2 separate regions of the Homo sapiens genome follow, and region 1 is linked to region 2. The links are contacts of gene promoters, found by promoter capture Hi-C in human tissues and cell types (Jung and others, 2019). All regions are on one chromosome and are shown on one strand. Each heading gives the region's core, a stretch centred on a gene start or on the middle of the fragment in contact. The rest is flanking DNA. Distances are from core to core; before and after follow the strand shown. Region 1 has its middle 41 kb from the start of PAX7. Region 2 holds the start of PAX7 (paired box 7).

Evidence for each region. The method cuts DNA at HindIII sites, captures the fragments that hold promoters and counts their contacts. A contact is called where the count stands out against the background at its distance.
Region 1: a fragment that was not itself captured here is called in contact with the fragment with the promoter of PAX7 in region 2 in 3 of the 25 tissues and cell types used here (H1 embryonic stem cells, liver and thymus).

The regions. Positions count from the first base shown.
Region 1 is chr1:18,587,653-18,592,434 of GRCh38, forward strand. No RefSeq gene overlaps it. Among named protein-coding and RNA genes, the nearest start is that of PAX7, 41 kb to the right of the region's middle. The HindIII fragment of the contact is 9,422 bases long and covers 1-4,782 here.
Region 2 is chr1:18,628,209-18,633,152 of GRCh38, forward strand. PAX7 (paired box 7) reads left to right here and starts at 2,638. Exons shown (of 9, transcript NM_001135254.2): 1 at 2,638-3,480. The coding sequence starts at 3,396. RefSeq lists promoters at 2,322-3,107, 2,511-3,421, 3,145-3,421 and enhancers at 3,961-4,944, 3,969-4,944. The HindIII fragment of the contact is 8,003 bases long and covers 1-4,944 here.

The sequences.
Region 1 (4,782 bases), core at 659-3,158, 41 kb before region 2:
GTATATAAGGCATAACGTACATCCTTGGGCAGTTTTATTTTAAATTTCATTTTGTTGCATTTTAATTTTTGAATAGCTAATGTATTCACGTGCTTCAAAAACCAAAAGACATCAAAATATATGAAGTAAAAATCCTCCTTCCACCTCTGTCCCTCATCTGCCCAGTTCTCAGCATTGACCCCACAGGTGACCGCTGTTCATGCTTTCTTCTGTATCTTCCCAGCATTTTTTTCTGCATCTCCATGCAAATAAGAATATAGAGTCTCGGTTGTCCCTCTATTGATACAAAATGTAAAACACTGAACACACTGTCTCTCTCCTTCTAATTTTTTCTCTTAACCATGGTATTCTGTGGTCTAGACAGACCATAATTGAATTAACTAGCCCCTTATTGCAGGGCATGGGCTGTTTTTAGCCATTTGCTAAACATTGTTGTGATGAACAGCCTTATATACAGTTGTCATTTCACACGTGCAAGTATCTCTATAGGATAAATTCCCACAGGGGAGTCGCTCGGTCAGAGACAACATGCGTTTGAAACTTTGATTGATAGTGCCAAGGTGCCCTTAGACATTGTCCCCGCGGTGACATAGGAGAATGTCTACTTCTCCCTCACACTCACCAACAGAAGGCGTCATTTTACATTTGGATGATTGGCAGTTTGATCAGGGAACGTGACATGTGTCTGTAGCTTTAATGGGCATTGATCTTACTATGGGTGAGCTGAACTTCTTTTCCTATCTTCAAGCACTTTTGGATTTTCTTTTCTCTAAATTATCTCTTCACAGCTTTTGCCCATTTTTATTTTGGGTCGTTTGACTTTCTCATCAATTTCCCTAGGTTCTTCAGGAGGGAGATTAACCCTTTACCTCTGATATGAGTTACAAACATTTTGTCCCAGATTGTCATTTTTTTTTTGACTTTGCTCATGATGGGATTTTTTTTTTTAACAAGCAGATTTTTTTTTATTTTTTTATCTATTTATTTTTTATTTTTTTATTTTTGAGACGAAGTCTAGCTCTGTCGCCCAGGCTGGAGTGCAGTGGCGCGCCTCAGCTCACTGCAACCTCCGCTTCCTGGGTTCAAGCAATTCTCCTGCTTCAGCCTCCCTAGTAGCTGGGACTACAGGCCTGCACCACCATGCCCAGCCACTTTTGTATTTTTAGTAGAGACAGGGTTTCGCCATGTTGGCCAGGCTGGTCTCGAACTCCTGACCTCAGGTGATCTGCCTGCCTCAGGCTCCCAAAGTGCTGGGATTACAGGTGTGAGCCACTGCGCCCAGCCAATTTTTATAGAAGTAAATTGATCAGCCAACCATGGTGGTGCGTACCTGTAGTCCCAGCTACTTGGAAGGCTGAGGTGGGAGGATCGCTTGAGGCCAGGAGTTCAAGACCAGCCTGGGCAACCTAGGACTGCCCCATCTCTACAATAAATGAATAAATGAATAAATAAAAATTAGCCAGGCATGGTGGCACATGCCTGTAGTCCCAGCTACAAGGGAGGCTGAGGCGGGAGGATCGCTTGAGGCCAGGAGTTCAAGACCAATCTTGGCAGCATAATGAAGCCGTGTCTTTAAAGAAAAATAAAAAATAAGTAAATTATCCATTTTTAATAGCTTCTAGATTTCTGAGTCATAATTAGAAAGTCCCTCATTTAAAAGTCATAAAGAAACTCTCTGATGTTTCCTTCTAAAATGTTTAAGCTTCATTTTCACACTTAAATTTTTGATTCCTTCAACATTTATTTTAAATATAAAGTAGAAATCCAGATTTTTTTTCCAGGTGTCTTTCCAGTTGTCCAACACCGTTTATTAAATAATTCAGCTTTTCTTTGCTGGTTTGGTATGGTAACCTTACTAACTGTCCATTTAATGTAGGCCTATTTCTGAGTTTTCTTTTATTTTATTGTCTGCTTGACTATTCACGGGTCAAAACCACATTGTTTTAATGATTGAGGCTTCATAATATGGGTTGGTCCTTCCCCCGAGCACCCTCTTTTTCCAGAATTTTCCTGTCTATGCCTACTGGTTAATTTTTCATACGAACTTTAGGATAAGCATGCCTCATTCAACAAAAACTGTGGATATTTTTTATCAGAATCAAAGTATATTTATCAATTAGCTGAGAGAGAATTAAAATGTCACGGTGTTGAGCCCCGCCGCTCCCCCCCTCCGCCACAATACGATGTATCTTTCCACTTGTTCACATTCTTCTGCCTTTTAGTAATTTTGTTAATTAAAATGCTTATTGAAATAGAACATGTATACAGGAAAGTCACAAATCATAAAGGAACAGCACTGTGAATTTTCACAAAGCAAGCACCCCCGTGAAATAGCTACTCAGATTGAGAACCGGAACGTGACCAGCTCCCCAGAGCCCTCCTCCTTCTCCTCCTGGTGATCATACCTCTCCTCCCAAAAGGAAACACCTTTCCCATTTCTATTAGGTTGGCGCAAAAGTAATCGCGGTTTTTGCCATTAAAAGTAATTTGCCATTAAAAGTAATGTCATTACTTTTAATGGCAAAAACCGCGATTACTTTTGCATCAAACTAATATCCTGTATTGTCTGTTTTTATTTATTTGTTTGTTTTTATATAACTTTAAGTTTTAGGGTACATGTGCACAACCTGCAGGTTTGTTACATATGTATACATGTGCCATGTTGGTGTGCTGCACCCATTAACTCGTCATTTACATTAGGTATATCTCCTAATGCTATCCCTCCCCCCTCCCCCCTCCCCCCACCCCACGACAGGCCCGGGTGTGTGATGTTCCCCTTCCTGTGTCCAAGTGTTCTCATTGTTCAATTCCCACCTATGAGTGAGAACATGCAGTGCTTGGTTTTTTGTCCTTGCGATAGTTTGCTGAGAATGATGGTTTCCAGCTTCATCCATGTCCCTACAAAGGACATGAACTCATCCTTTCTTATGGCTGCATAGTATTCCATGGTGTATATATCCCACATTTTCTTAATCCAGTCTATCGTTGATGGACATTTGGGTTGGTTTCAAGTCTTTGCTATGGTGAATAGTGCTGCAATAAACATACGTGTGCATGTGTCTTTATAGCAGCATGATTTATAATCCTCTGGGTATATACCCAGTAATGGGATGGCTGGGTCAAATGGTATTTCTAGTTCTAGATCCTTGAGGAATCTCCACACTGTCTTCCACAATGGTTGAACTAGTTTACAGTCCCACCAACAGTGAAAAAGTGTTCCTATTTCTCCACATCCTCTCCAGCATCTGTTGTTTCCTGACTTTTTAATGATCGCCATTCTAACTAGTGTGAGATGGCATCTCATTGTGGTTTTGATTTGCATTTCTCTGATGGCCAGTGATGATGAGCATTTTTTCACGTTGTAATGTAAATCAAAACATATGTAAAGACAAATAATGAAAAAAAATGGGAAAAAAAGTTTAAAAAAATATGTGCTCTTTTTTTACAATTTTTTTTTTTGAAACAGTGTCTTGCTCTGTCACCCAGGCTGGAGGGCAGCAGCACCATCACAGCTCACTGCAGCCTCAACCTCCCAGGCTCAGCCTACCAAGTAGCTGGGACTGCCTCATCCTCCCACCTCAGCCTACCAAGTAGCTGCAGCTACAGGTGTGCACCACCACACCCAGCTAATTCGTTTTTTCTTCTTCTTCTTCTTCTTCTTCTTCTTCTCCTTCTCCTTCTCCTTCTCCTTCTCCTTCTTCTTCTTTTTTGAGACAGAGTCTCGCTTTGTTGCCCAGGCTGGAGTGCAGTGGTGAGATCTCGGCTCACCGCAACCTCTGCCTCCAGGGTTCAGGTGATTCTCCTGTCTCAGCCTCCCGAGTAGCTGGGATTACAGGCGCATGCCCAGCTAATTTTTTTGTATTTTTAGTAAAGACGGGATTTCACCGTGTTAGCCAGGATGGTCTAGATCTCCTGACCTCGTGATCCGCCCACCTCGGCCTCCCAAAGTGCTGGGATTACAGGCATGAGCCACCGCGCCCAGCCATACCCAGCTAATTTTTGTATTTTTTGCAGAGACGAGGTTTCACCATGTTGCCCAGGCTGGTCTCAAATTTCTGGGCTCAAGCAATCCACCTGCCTCACCCAGCCTCCCAAAGTGCTGGGATTACAGGCATGAGCCACTGTACTGGACCCACATGTGCTCTTTGGTGTCTGACTTCTTTCACTCAACACTGTGTAAGATCCATCCTTGCTGTGATGCACAGCAGTACTTTGTCCATCTTAATCACTGTAGAGTTTTTCATTGTCTGACTATATTACAATGTGTTCAAGCATTCTACTGCTGATGGATATTTGGGCTATTAGGAATACTGTTATGGAATTAATAATATTACTAATAATTAGTAATAGGAATTAGGTTGGGCATGGCGGCTCACGTCTATAATCCCAACACTATGGGAGGCCGAAGTGGGAGGATCACTTGAGGCAAGGAGTTTGAGACTAGCTTGGGCAACATAGTGAGACCCCATCTCTACAAAGAAGTTTAAAAATTAGCAGGGTGTGGTGGTGCACACCTATAGTCCCAGCTACTTAAAACGCTGAGGTAGGAGGATAGCTTGAACCTAGAAGTTGGAGGCTGCAGTGAGCTATGATTGCACCATTATACCACAGGCCTGGGCAACAGAGATACACCCTGTCTCTTAAAAAAATTAATAATAATAAACAGTAGCATTAGGAATAGAACACTCTTGCCTATGTCTTTTGGTACAAATATGTGCTCATTTCTGCTGAGCCCTCCTAGGAGTACCATGGCTGGGCCATACAGTGTGTGTATGTGAACTC
Region 2 (4,944 bases), core at 1,388-3,887:
AAGAGGGGGTCAAGGGCTAAAGGAAAACTTTCTGGAACAAGTCTGGCCCAGCCCACACACTCAGAAGCCCTCACACCCTCCCAGCAGCAACTGGAGGTCTTAGGAGTTGATTAAGCCTGCATGGGGGTGACTTTTTCTAGACAAGGGGGTAAGCAAAGGGAAACAAGAGGAGGGGACGCGGCTCTCCCCCATCCCCAGCCACAGTTCCCAGGTGAACCCCCCTTTCCCCTGCTGGATGTGAAATCGCCATTTCACCCCACCACACTCCTTAATTGTTGCAAAAATCATTTGTGAAATTGGTCTCCAACAGGCAAGAACGGCCACGCTCATTCCAATAGACAACCCCACCTCAACCCTTCCCTCTGCAAGGGCCCATGGAATCCCGGAGCTGCAGAAACCCTGGGGGCCTGTGTCGCTACTGCACCCACTACTGTGAGTCTTTTGCAGGGAGGGTGAGGGACCACACTGTGGGCAAGGTGGCCCCAGTGCAGGACTCCTGAGGTTCTGAGGGTCCCTGGCAGCAGAAGTGTCCAGCTATGCACTCGCCCCACTCAGCTCAAGATGCTACATGAGCACTGGCCAGAAGAGAGGGAGCCTCCCACCCTTGGCACACCCTGGAGGTCTTTTCTCACTTGAGAATTGACCTAAACACACACTCACACATTCCTGACGCGCGCTTAGAGCCATACCAAGGCAACCTGGAGGTGACCTCAAAGCAGAAATACAGACATGGACCCTCACTTAGAAACACACATTTACTCAAACTGACCCCAAACAGACCTACACACAAAACCCACCTGCACCTTGACACACAGACCCGGGCACAGGCCTATATTCACACGCAAGCACACTGGCCCATTCCACAAATACAGGGAAGAAGTGCCTTGAAACCTTCCAGGCAGAGGACAGCTAGTGACGAATGAATGGATGAATATGCAATATACCTAATATATATGTGTGTGTGTTATACGTGTGTATGCATAAGTGTATATGATACAAATACATGTATATATACACACAGAGAATATATATCCACCTATGGAGGTCAAAGCAGGCCAGGTCCCCAGCAAGGCTGGTGATGTAAGGGGGTTGCTGTCTTCCCTGGGCACACATGCTATGGCTTAAAGCTTGATCTCCCAATCTCTCCCGGGGGAGGGCCCCATAACTTGGGCCAGGCAAAGTACCCCGGTGTCCCCCTTCCAATTCGAAAGCTACTTGGCATCTGTCTTCTCAGTTAGAGAGAGTATGAGCTCAACAAGTTTTTCATCAGGGCCCCCATTCCCAGAAGGCCCCCCCAAAATCTGATGAGCCCCTTGTGCTAGGAGAGTGGGGAGAGGAGGGAGATCTGTCACATGCTGCAAGGGGCAAAGGTCACAGGTGAGGCGAAGGGGAGGGATGGGGACACCCTGGGGCCAGCCAGCGGTGAGCGCCCCAGGCTAAGACAAGGCTGACCCCACTGCCGAGAGAGGGCGGGCAGGGGGTGAGATTGAGGGCTGGGTTCATTTTATTGTATTTTGCCTCCAGCGTGGGGCCAGAGACGCTCTTTCCCCCGGGAGACAAAAGGCCTGCAGTTGTGGCGTCCTGCCCCGCTGGGAGGGCGTTTCGCCCCCAGGACTCGGTGTCCCGAGGTTGAGGCTACTGGTCACCCTGGCTTCAGAAAGCGAAGAATTCAGGAACCTCTGATCACCCCACCCTGACTCCTGATCATTCAGTTGGGGCGTCCCCTCAAACCCACCAGCAAGGAGCTCAGAGTTGGTGAGTTCAGAGCTGTATCAAGTCTTGACGGGCTCCCTCCCTCCCATTTCCCACCTCTTTGGGCCCCCAGATCCTCACACCAGCACCAACTCCCTGTAAACCCAACTACCTGCTGGAAAGGAGTTATAGGCCCGGCCTGGGGGCCTGAGGAGGACGGCGGCGGCTGGAGACGTCTGCACGGGGCGGAACTGGAAGGGGAGGAAGAAACCTGTGCCTAGCACTTGGCAGACCCACTTTGCCAAGCCTCGGAACCAGATACGGTTACTGGGGGCTTCTCAGAGCGGCAGGAAGGTAGAGTAAGAACCGGACACCGGGGCTCTGACATTACACAGAAAAGGTCAGAATTCCTCCCTTCAAGTCACCCTAGGCCGGTTCCCGGGGAGCCTCACTGGAGGAATTTCAGAGGGTGTAAGACGAGGGAGAAGATGAGAAATAGGGCGGACTCTGGCCCTCGGAGGCCAGAGAAAAGGCGAGACTCCAGAGAGGCGCCGGACCCGAGGCAGACATTCCCATACAGCCGGGACTCCGAGAGCAGCCGTGGGCGACCTGGGGGCCGGGGACTCGGCGGATCCGGCCCATTCATCAAAGGAAGGCACTGGGACAAAGTTGGCCCCCTCCCCTTCTCCCCCAGCCCCCAACTCGCCGGGATCGGCTCCCTCTCTTTTCACGGCGGTTCAAATTCTCCCCCAAAACGAGGTCGAGCCGGGGATTAGAAAAGAGGGAAAAAAATATTCGTTGGCGATTTCTTTTCGTTATTGGTCCTCCGCTCCCTTGCGCCCTGGCCCCCTTCCCTCCTCATGAATAAAAGAAAAGTCCGAACCTATCAGATCGCGCTCACTGCCTCCTCCTCCTCCTCCTCCTCCTCCTCCTCGTACTTCGGTGAACACTTTTGCACAACTTACCCAGCTGATCACTCGCGCCCCCTCGCTTTTCCATTTCTCTTTCCCCAACCCCGTCACCCCCTGTCTCCTCCGTCCAGCCCTGAAACCCGAGGAGGCTCCTTCTTCCGTCTGTCCCCGGGTCTCCTAGGGGACGGGGCTGTGAAAGCTGGTGTGGAGGGAGAAGCGAGTGTGGTCCGGAGAAAGAAGGCGTGGAGAAGAGGGAGGGAGCGAGAGCGAGAGAATAAATATATAAATAAATACGAGAACGAAATCCACTCCGCAGTCTCCGGGCTCGGAAACTTTGGCCCCGAGCGCCAGAGCGCCAGAGCGCGAGAGCGCGGCGCTCGCCACTCTGAGGCTGGCGGCCTCGATTCCGGCCGCGTTCCCCCGGCCCCCCTCCGCCGCGGGGCCTGGTCTCCGGGTTCTGCCAGGCGCATCAGCCCGCACAACTTCTGGCCGAGGCCAGCCGGCAGAGGCGGACTTGGGGTTGGAGTGTTTGTTTGTTTGAACTTCCTCGTCGTCGCCACCTTCCCTCCCCCCAACCTCCACCCCACCTCACCCCCCTCCCCAGCTTCTGGACGCGTTTGACTGCAGCCAGGGGTGGGGGGTGGGGGTAGGGAGTGTGTGTGGAGGGGAGGGAGAAGAGGTTAAAAAAAAGAAGACGAAGAAGACGGAAAGAAAGAGATCGCAGCAGGGGTGAAGGGAGCGGACGGGAAGCGATTTTTGCCGACTTTGGATTCGTCCCCGGCGTGCGCAAGAATGGCGGCCCTTCCCGGCACGGTACCGAGAATGATGCGGCCGGCTCCGGGGCAGAACTACCCCCGCACGGGATTCCCTTTGGAAGGTAAGAACGCCCAGGCTGGCCTCGCCGCGACTCCGCCGCCCGGAACTCGGGGTCCTTGGAGAGGCTGCGGTCTCCAGGGGACGGTGGCGGCGCCGGCGATAGCAGAGGGATCCCGTTCTCTTCTGGGTCCCAGTCCGGGCGCGGAACCCAGGGAGTTTCTGGGACCCATACTTGTCCGCTTCTGCGTGGGTTTCACTGCCCGGCGGCCTTCGTTTCGCAGGTCGCTAGCTGCCGGTCTTTACCCGCAGGGCTGAAATTCTGGTAGATTTGGACTCCTAGTAAATATCAGGTCCTGGTGAATTTCAGCTCTTTCCACTATTTCCAGACACTTCTTCCCTGACAGTTTCTCGGCTCTCCTGGCTCGCTGGCTGCCAGCTTTCTACTCTTGTTTTGAATTATTTTTTCCACCCCCGGGATTGGTCTTCCAGTCCTTTATTTCGAACCACCTACCATGGGTGATACTTTATATGCCTCAACTACCACGGCTATCCATTTCTTCCGAAGCCACAGTCAAACACTCCTGCTTTTCCGCCTGGAAACAAACTAATTGGAAATAATAATTAGTAATGATTTTCCCCCTAAAACTTTTTACTCGGGCTTCCGCACTCTGGAAATCTCCCGGGAGAGAACCTCTAAACGGCGAGGTTTAGAGAACCTCTAAACGGCGAGAGGGGCACGGCAATGTCCAAACGAGAAGAAAGAGCTGATTTTGTAAAGCGTCCTTCCTAAACATCCAGCGCCCGCCCGGGGAGACCCGATAGGACGGGCGGCGGCGAACCGGGTCCTGGCTGGAGAAAAGGCTGGGAGCGCACAGCGGAGAGACCCGCTCCTGTGTTTTTGTTCTGTTTTCTTTTTAAACTAATGGAAGGCCTCAACCTGTCACTGAGGGATCATTTGGCTTCTGAGGGTAGGTAGCCTAGGGTGTCACAGAGAAGTCATTAGAAATATGTGCGACTTTTTTTTTTTAAATTACTCTTCCTGTGATCGTTTGAGTCCCTGGCGCGTGAGGAAGGGGAGAGGAGGCAGGGAGGGGGTGGGTGGGCTGGCAGCCTGCGATCCGGGAGGAGCTCCCTTGGGCAGCGAGACGGCGCCGGGTCCCTGAATTAGACAGAGGCGAAGAGAGCGGCTCCGTGATCAAGTGCGCGCCGGCAGCCACGCAGGCGGGAGAGCGCGCAAACCCGGGGATTTGCAGTGGCACTCTCCTGTAGCGAATGCAAGTAAAACAGGCGGCTGAGGACGCGCGGCGGATTAGAACAATATTTGCCCAACATGACGCAGAATACTGAGGAGAGCCGAGTGCCGGTCGCTAAAGAGGCTCTTGAATATAAAGTTGGGCGCTCGAGAGCTCTTGAGCGCTAATGGCATATCCCGCCACGGAGACCGAGTGACTCCGACTTTGCGACGCACGATTTCTGATTAAATCCGAGAGTGGCTTCAGACACCGACTTTTACAAAGAGAGGTGG